Linked DNA regions of Homo sapiens: regions 1 and 3 are each linked to region 2. Evidence: promoter capture Hi-C in 16 types of primary human blood cells and fetal thymus (Javierre and others, 2016). All regions are on one chromosome and are shown on one strand. The core of a region is centred on a gene start or on the middle of the fragment in contact, and the rest is flanking DNA. Distances in the headings are between cores, read along the strand shown. Region 1 overlaps VAPA (VAMP associated protein A). Region 2 holds the start of RAB31 (RAB31, member RAS oncogene family). Region 3 overlaps PPP4R1 (protein phosphatase 4 regulatory subunit 1).

Evidence for each region. The method cuts DNA at HindIII sites, captures the fragments that hold promoters and counts their contacts. A CHiCAGO score of 5 or more calls a contact.
Region 1: a contact is called between a fragment that was not itself captured here and the fragment with the promoter of RAB31 in region 2, in 1 of 17 cell types (erythroblasts). The highest score is 5.1, in erythroblasts.
Region 3: a fragment that was not itself captured here is called in contact with the fragment with the promoter of RAB31 in region 2 in 1 of 17 cell types (neutrophils); the score reaches 5.7 in neutrophils.

Annotation. Positions count from the first base shown.
Region 1 is chr18:9,947,893-9,950,817 of GRCh38, reverse strand. VAPA (VAMP associated protein A) reads right to left here. Exons shown (of 6, transcript NM_194434.3): 5 at 250-423. Among named protein-coding and RNA genes, the nearest start is that of VAPA, 35 kb to the right of the region's middle. The HindIII fragment of the contact is 362 bases long and covers 1,191-1,552 here.
Region 2 is chr18:9,706,685-9,709,707 of GRCh38, reverse strand. RAB31 (RAB31, member RAS oncogene family) reads right to left here and starts at 1,407. Exons shown (of 7, transcript NM_006868.4): 1 at 1,264-1,407. The coding sequence starts at 1,302. It overlaps LOC124904244 (a long non-coding RNA gene), which reads left to right and starts at 1,736. Exons shown (of 2, transcript XR_007066281.1): 1 at 1,736-3,023. It overlaps LOC105371981 (a long non-coding RNA gene), which reads right to left and starts at 1,036. Exons shown (of 2, transcript XR_935131.2): 1 at 1-1,036. RefSeq lists silencers at 813-1,042, 1,143-1,712. The HindIII fragment of the contact is 11,750 bases long and covers 1-3,023 here.
Region 3 is chr18:9,575,470-9,578,200 of GRCh38, reverse strand. PPP4R1 (protein phosphatase 4 regulatory subunit 1) reads left to right here. Exons shown (of 20, transcript NM_001042388.3): 10 at 1,010-1,137. Among named protein-coding and RNA genes, the nearest start is that of PPP4R1, 38 kb to the left of the region's middle. The HindIII fragment of the contact is 828 bases long and covers 890-1,717 here.

The DNA of each region.
Region 1 (2,925 bases), core at 122-2,621, 240 kb before region 2:
AGAAGCTGGCAATACTGCAGGCCAGATCACAAATAATTAGAATGTGTGCTAAAGTAAGGAACTTGCAGCAATGAGAAACCACGGGAAGACTGTTAAAAGAGGAGTAGGGTGGGGAGCAAAGGCACTGGGGCAAAGAAGAAAGAACTGACCAAGCAAAAATTTAAAAGCTAATTGCTAAAATGGCCTAATAACACTCACATGTCCTATACCTTCATTTCAATCAATTTATTTTCAACCAACAGAACTTACTCTCAGGTGCCGATTTTCTTCTGATAGCTTCATCATTTCTCCCTGAAGTCTTTTACACTCTTCCATTAGTTTCCTTGTTTCGGTATCATTAAGTGAAACACTGTGTGGTTTTGGCATAGGTCCATCTTGCTTAGATGCATTCAGTGGAACAGCTTTGCTAGGTTCCATATCATTCTGCATTACAAAGATATTGGGAATTTTTTAACTAACCAAATCTCCTTACAGGTTTTAAACAAATAACAATATAAATTCTACATCTTTGTTCATGAAAAACTCTTTAAAAGGCCTAAATCAGTACATGTCAGCAGTCAGATTAGTCTAAATAACCAGCCCACTCCCTCTATTCCCATAATCCCTGGCACGTACCTCTACCATAGCACTTTATTATGTATCTTAATAATTATTGTTCAAGTTCTTTCCTGTAATACTTCAAAGGCTGAGAGAGCAAGAGCCATCTCTCTTTGTATTTACCCCTAAAACCAGCACTTTGGTCAAGAGTAGTTATTCAATGAAAGTATGCTGAATGACGTCAACAAAATCCATTGAAGGTCATTTTCCGTGCTCTGGTTGTGCAATTCAAATAAGGTTCTGGGGGGTAGGGGGATATTATCGTAATCATTCCAATAAAATCGGAAACTACCTAAGAAAAAACATGCCCAAGAAAAGCTAACTTCTATTAATTTGTCATCTTTAGTAATGCTGTTTGCTTTAATTCACGTGATTCAACATCACAGGAGCACTTAGCATGCTTTGAAGACTATGAGCCCCAAAATCTTAATCCTCACCAACATTGAACCATTTGAAGCTAGTGAAGGCCTGGAGATAAATATCTATGACAGCACCTATGTATTCTTCAGCCCGTTGTCTAAAGTACCCCAACATCCTTCACTCCAACAGCATTTATGTCACCACACATCGTAGCAGTATTAGTGTAACAAGCTTTTTTCATTTTAATTAAATTCACTTACTTTAAAATAATTTTAGGTAAAATCTGCTTTATTCAGCTATAAACTGCTAAAAAAGACATTTACTAAATCAACTTTATGGCATTCCACAATACTCATTTTATAAGATTTATCAGAGGCTGCACACCTACCACACCATCCCAGCTGCCAATTTTATATTAAGTATAAACAGATTGTTCAAAGGGCAAAACTTGTTATTCTTATGAAGGGGATGTGATTTGATTAGTATGCCTAAATCCATGTAAAATCTATTTAAAAATGAAAATTTATAATGAGGTTCTAATGAACAACAGCATGTATGTGACCTGTCGGCAGACTCTTCCATTCTTCTTCAAGCTTCCCAGTTAAGCAACGTTTTAAAGCAGCCTACTTCAATTCTCTGAGTTTTTCTCTTGCTAGCTTTTTTGTTCTTCACCCCCATTTCTCCCACCCCAACCAATCTAATAATAGCCGCCCCTATTATTAAAAAACTGTTTCAGATATATTTTACCCTGCCAATACTTTTTCCTGTTCTTTTCCTTAATAGTAGTTAGAACTCATTTGTGATTTTCAGTGTGGTCAAATTCTATCCTAGCACAAATCCAACTTCTGATAATGAGGTTGGCACACTGACTTACTCTATAAAGGAGGTGGCAATGGCCACCAATATGGCAATAGAAGAACTTTCAGGTTTTGGTTAAAAATTGGGAAAAAGTATCATACTCATACCAGAAAACTGATAAAAACTTAAAGAGGATGAAGCAGGGCACCATGTCTGATGTCTGTAATCCCAACACTTTGGGAGGCCGAGATGGGTGGCCTGCTTGAGCCCAGGAGTTCAAGAACAGCCTGAGCAACAGAGGGAGACCCTGTCTCTACAAAAAACAATTTTAGAAATTAGCCAGGCATGGTGGTGTGCACCTGTAATCTCAGCTACTCATGAGACTGAGGTGGCTTGAGCCCAGGAAGCGGAGGTTGCAATGAGACGAGATCGTGCCACTGCACTCCAGCCCAGGTGAGAGTGAGACCCTATCTCCAAAAGGGGGAAAAAAAGATATACATGGGGTCAACACCAAAGAGAAAAAAAACTAAAAGAATCATCAAGCTCGACAACTGATTATTTTTAAATTCTTTACATTGCATAAAATTTTAAATTACGGAGGGAAGGGAAAAAGTCATTTCTCACAATCTTGTCAAATCAACAAAACTATTATTTATATTACTATTATTAAATGACATGTCATTAAATATTCTATTCTATGCCTTGCCAAAATTAAACATTTCACTTTTGTTAAGCATTTGATGGGCAGCTTTCCATTCTTTCAAATTTTAAATAACATGTCCATAGGAAGACATTCCATAAAAAGATAACTAGATTGGAATTAGATTTAGATTTTTCTAATTCTAATAGAATTAGACTTGGAATTAGATTAGAATTTATCTAAGCAAATAGAATTAGATTTTTTTGTTGTTGAATTTCTCTTAAAAATGTTATACTGCTTTTGTAACAAAAAGGAGAAGAAATGATAACCAATATGTGGAGCATAAACAGAATAGAATGCAAAGAATACAGTGAAGCCGAAACACATTTCAAAAGTGTGCCCAATAAGTTATATCACATACTACCTAGGCCCCTTACAAACCAGTGAACATACATAACAGGTGCAAGAAAATCTAATTTATTTACATATACATATGCTACATATGTATATGTTATGCTATATATGTATAT
Region 2 (3,023 bases), core at 158-2,657:
GGGGCTAGCAGGGAGGGCAGGGCCTTCCCAGATCCTCTGGAATTCTAAGCCAACCGGACAATCGAGTTAGCGTAAGGGATGGTTTTGGAAGAGGCCGGTGATGGGAGCCGATGATGGGAGCCTGCCGGAGGTTCCACAAGAGCCTAGAGGAAGCCTAGAGACGCTGGCACAATTCAGTCCTCACCGAAATCATTTCCTCTTTCTACAGTTCTTGTACCCCCATCTTGACAGATCAGTTCGCACAAGAATGCGACCCTTTCGCTGCCCTTTTTTAGGAAATGGTTTTCATGAGACCAGCTTTGCCAATGACACGGGCGGGTACACCAGATGCTAATGGCTGCTGAAAACGCCCTTAGAACCGGCTCTTCTTTTAGAAGAAGGAATTCTGGAATGCGGAGTGGGCCCCCGAAAGGAAGCGACCCTACGTTTATCTGAATTCCCAGGGGCGGTTCGCCAGCGGCTCCCTGCGTCCTCGCCGGGTCCCCTGTCTGCAGTCCCCGGGCCGCACGGATTGACTGCTTTTTTGTTTCTGGCTGCTTTAAGGCTTCTTCGGGCGGAGAAAACCCCACTTTAGGGGAGTGATGGTGGGGAGGACTTTCCCAGGCAGCTTCTTTCACCCGCAGCAGGGAAGTTTGCAGGGCGCGCTCCGCACAGGTCACTGCCTCACCTTCCACCCCGGCCGCGCCCTCGGCTTTCACCCCCTTGGCTGGGTTCGCTTTTGGTTTTATTTTTCTGTTTTACGTGAGTAAATCAATTGCCCCCAGGAGGCAAAAGAGCACTCAGCGACTTGGCTGAGCAACTTAAACTTTCTGCCGGAAGGAAACTATCAAAAGCGGAGGAGAAAGCCCTCGGGGCCCCAGACTCGCCGCCACTGCCCCGTCCCCGCTGGGGGTCCCCGCGAGGTCGCCGCGGATCCGGGGACTCGCGGGCCGGGAGGAAAGAGCGGAGTAAGCCCGGGGCAGGCTCGGACCCGGACCCCGGCAGGGTGAGAGCGGGGGCGGACCAGAGGGGCGCACGGACGGCGGGGAGGCGGAGAACAGGCGGGGTGCGGAGAGCGAGGGGCGCGGAGAGCGAGGGGCGCACGGACTAGGGGAGCCAGGGGGACCCGGGGAACCAGGGGGCGCGCGGACGAGGGGGACGGGGGCTACGAGAGGGGTGCGGAGAGCGAGGGGATCACGGGGACTGAGCGCGCAGGGAATAGGGGAGCGAAGGGGCGCGAGAGCGCGGGCCGGGGTCCGCCGGCGGGTGGCGGCCAGGACTCACCCCGAGAAGGCACACTTTGAGCTCCCGTATCGCCATCATGTGCTCGCAGCCAGGCAGTGCCGGGGCTCAGCAGCATCCTCCGGGGCCGCCGCGCCCGCGCCCCGCCGGCGTCTCTCGCCTCTGCCCCTCGCTCGCGCCGCCCGCGGGCGGAACCGCCGCCGCTGCTATTTCTGGGCCGCCGGCCCCGCCGCGGTGGGTCACGTGGCCGCCGGCCGGCTCCTCCCGGGCGCGTCGGGTCCAGCCTCGCCGGCCCCCAGCTCCCAGGAACGCCCCCGGACGGCGTCAGCCACCCGGGACCTGCGGCGTCGCCGGCGGATTGCCTCCGCCCTCGGACCAGCCCCGCGCGGGTCGGCCTCCCCCAGCGCCCTCCGGCATCCGCCCCTCCCGGCCCCGCCTGGCCGCAGGGCCCGGGTGGGTAGGAAGGACTGGACCGGCCCTGTGGAGACCTGGCCCCACTACCAGCGGGTCCCTGAAGATGCCATTCTCATCTGGAAAGCGAATGCTCTCGGCCGAGGCCGTTTGCGTGGCAGCGCGTGGAGGTCTGCGGGGGTCCCATCCTCAAGCGACATTCTGGGTCCCACGCAGAAAAAGTCAGGCCACTGAAGGGGCCGCTGTGAGGACAGGGGTGAGGAGAAGGGGGCTAACTTTTCGGCCTGCCTTTCTCGACGTTCCTAATACCCGAGCTTCCGTTTAACATATGTGTGGCTCTTCAGCTCAGCCAAGTTCATTTTTCTGTATGCAGCTGAAAATGATTCTAGAAGCAAAACTCGCTGTCCGTGTCTGAAACGGGAAACTTGCTTTCTGGAGCAAAAGTCTTTTTCTCAGTAGAGCAAATCCTGCAACTCGTGTGGGCAGAAACCCAGTCCTCAGAGGTACAGGTAGAAACGTGGAGATCCCAGCAGACCCCTGCATCGTTCCTAACTGGGAAATGAGCAGAGTCTGTGGCCGCACACAGTCGGGGAGGCTTGGGTAACTGTGTTCTCTTCTCCATGTATGGCCTAGAGCACCTCATCCACTCGGATGACTTCATTCGTTGCTGCTACAGAAATGTCAGCCTTTTCAATGTAATCTATCTGAACAATTCACTGGCATTTCAGATGGGAAATGTTTTTTTAAAAACTGATTTTTTGAAACTTCATCTCCTATCCCAAACTCTCAGGCCTCTCTCTTAACCTTCCAATTTTAATCAATGGCATTTCCATTCTCCTAGCAGACCACCCACCGTGATCATCTGGCTTTGTTCTTACGGAAGCCAGGTTGAAGCTACCCAGTACCCAAGTAGCCCCATCCAATGGGAAATTCCAAATCAAGGCCTCCAAAGAGATAAGTCCTGGAATACAGGAGTCAAAATGGGCCCCGAAACAGACAATTCACAATTAAATTCCCCAGAAGAGCAGGAAGTTTGCCCTCGAGGTGCAGGCTTGTAGAGATTACTCAAATGGACTAAACTGTACAAAAGGCAGCCATGGACAAGTTACAGGTCCATTGTATCAGTATCCGTCCTTGACTCTGTATCCAAAGCAGAGTCTTCTATGTGGGCAGGGTAAAAAGAGGCTTCCCCAGAATCAAACAGTCCTGATCACAATATCTCCCTGCCCTCAGATTTGCTAATCAGAAAACCACCCCTACACAGTTGCAAAGACACCTCCCCCAAGGCCTTCGCCAGCCCTGAGGGCACCTCCACAGTGAAACATGTCCTTTTGGCTTTCCAGCTTGATTCCCAAAAGCCAGTCAAACCAGGGTGGAAGCCTCCACTGTGT
Region 3 (2,731 bases), core at 54-2,553, 130 kb after region 2:
TTTTAGTAACATACCAGTTTCCCATTGTTGTTGCCTTTGTCCGATTGTGTCCATCCTTCCATAAAACCTCTCATTTTCAAATGTTTTAAAAATTCCTGATTTTAAAAATAATACAGAAATACGACATGAAGTGGAATTCTATAACTTCTTTATCACCCCTCCTACATGAGACAGTCATCAAGAACAATAGTATATGCTTCAAGATCTTTGTGACATACTTTAAGTTAACATTATGTTTCTGGTACGTCTGTCTTGCTTCCTTCTAGTGAACAAATTAAAGTCTTTCCTACCTGAAAACATTAAATGTATTTATCACATTTTGTTGGCTTTATTGATTTTTATGTTCTTTGTGGCACTCTTGGTTTTCCTTATTCTTTTTGTTCTTGAGAACACAGCAGGACCTTCTTTAGTTTTGTTCTATGCAAATGTTTCATAGTATCTCATACTTAGATTATCATGGTTCAAACATTCAAGAGAGGATAAAAACAATTGAAAGTAAAAAAGAGCAAATAGGGGTTTGTTTGGGGTTTTTTTTTTAGACAGTCTTGCTCTGTCACCCAGGCTGGAGTACAGTGGTGTGATCACGGCTCACTACAGACTTAGCCTCATGGGTTCACGCGCTTCTTCCACCTCAGGCCCTGCCGAGTAGCTGGGACCACAGGCATGCGCCACCACGCCCTGCTAACTTTGGTATTTTTTGTAGAGACTGGATTTCGCCATGTTGCCCAGGCTGGTCTCAAACTGCTGGACTCAAGCGATCTGCCCAGCTCAGCCTCCCAGAGTGCTGGGATTACAGGCATGAGCCACTGCGCCCAGCCAGAGAAAATAGCTTGTAAGAATTTTTCAGTCCTAGCTAAAGTTCTGAATCTGGGCTTCCTTTAGAAAAGCTTCATTATTATCCTAAACATACTTCGGCATTTGAAAGTAGATTATTAAATATACATAATGTGTGCGTATATAATTCTTTTTCAAAATGATTCCTTTATTATTGTCCTTTTTATCTTCCTAGGTTCGCCAAGCAGCTTTTCAGTCTCTGGGACCTTTCATATCTACTTTTGCTAATCCATCTAGCTCAGGCCAGTATTTTAAAGAAGAAAGCAAAAGTTCAGAAGAGATGTCAGTAGAAAACAAAAATAGGTATAATTTTGAAACCATTTTCTAATTTTAAAACCTTGTTTTCTAATTTTACTGCTTTTAAACATTATTTCCACTATTCTGCAACAAATGTTATTTTTTGATAGTTTGCTATTTCTCTTGAATATAAAAATTGGTGAATATTTTTATAGAGCTTTACTTTAAGCGCATTTGTTTGTTAAGTATCTCTTTGGTTGGTTACATATTGAATGAGTAGATGCATGTAACACAATTAGCTAGATGCCTCGCACATAGGAAACTCTAAATGGTAGATTATGACTTTTAAAAAATGTTTATTTAGTACATTATTTAGTCAATCATTCATTGATATCTACAATATACAGGGTAATTGTTACACACTGTGTAGTATTTGGGTTTTTTTAAATTTGTTTTTAAGGAGTAAAACTTAATTTAGGAATATGTTTTATTGTCCTTTTCTGTCAAATAATTTAGTTGCGCATCTTGGATTCTTTGTCAATGGTGATTGTAATCTGTCAGTTAAAGGAGAAAGCCAGTATATTAGCCAGTATATCAGTTTTAAGTATATCAGTCTCATAAGGAAACCAAAGTTTTAAATAAAGCTTAAAGAGTCGGCTGTGATTTTTATTTTTAAATGTTTTTGCATTGAAAATTTTCTATTAAATTTAAATTTTAAAAATTTATTATAATATATATTTAGGGGAAAAACTAATTCAAGCCTAACTTACTAGTATGCGGGAAATGTACACAAACTTTTACAGTTATGCACTTGAAGTAATTTTAGTACAAATATTTGAAACAGTCCCTGCTATAATGCTTGAGTTACCATAGTGTCTTTTCCCTCCCTTGTCATGATGCTAATGGACATTTTCTTCTGTAGGTCTTGATACTGTGCTATTTGCTTTCTTGGTGTTTTGATTTGGCAGTTCTTCTTTCTTCTCTGCTGCCTTGTTTTACCTTTTTGCCCGTTCTCCTACTGTCCTGCTGAATAGCCAAACAAACCTGAGGTACTGTTTTTTGTAAAGGAAGAAAATCACTCAAACCTGTCTTCCTAGCAAGCAAAGTCTGTCAGTTTTTTTGAAAACAGGTGCTGCCAGGACTTTGACAAAAGTGATGATGGTGGGTGGGGAATGTTATCTATTTTTCATTTTTGAAATCAGCATACTTAAAAAATTACCTGTTTATACTGAAGACTGTTACATAACTTCTGTTTTAAAATCTGAAATGGGTCTAGTAAGAAACTATAAATTTGCAGAGAACTGTATAGGACGAGCTGGTAAACTTTCTTCTGTTTCACAACTACTCACTCGGCCTTTGCAGTGTATAAGCAGCCGTAGACATTACATAAATGGACAAGCTTGGCTGTGTTCCAGTAAAACTTCACTGACCTCAACAGTGTGCCTATCAAGGCCATGTTTGCCGCCTACCGGTGTGTAGCATTACTGCAATAGCTATTTAAAGGTAGTTCAATTCCTTGATTCTTCTTCCATTGTAATGAGGTATGTCTTAATGTCCAGGCAATACTACTTGTATTGCTGATCTTCAGTAATATTAGAGCTTATTAAATTATGTTAATGATATGGTAGGGGAAAGAGAGCATTCCTGGCTAAGGAAGGAG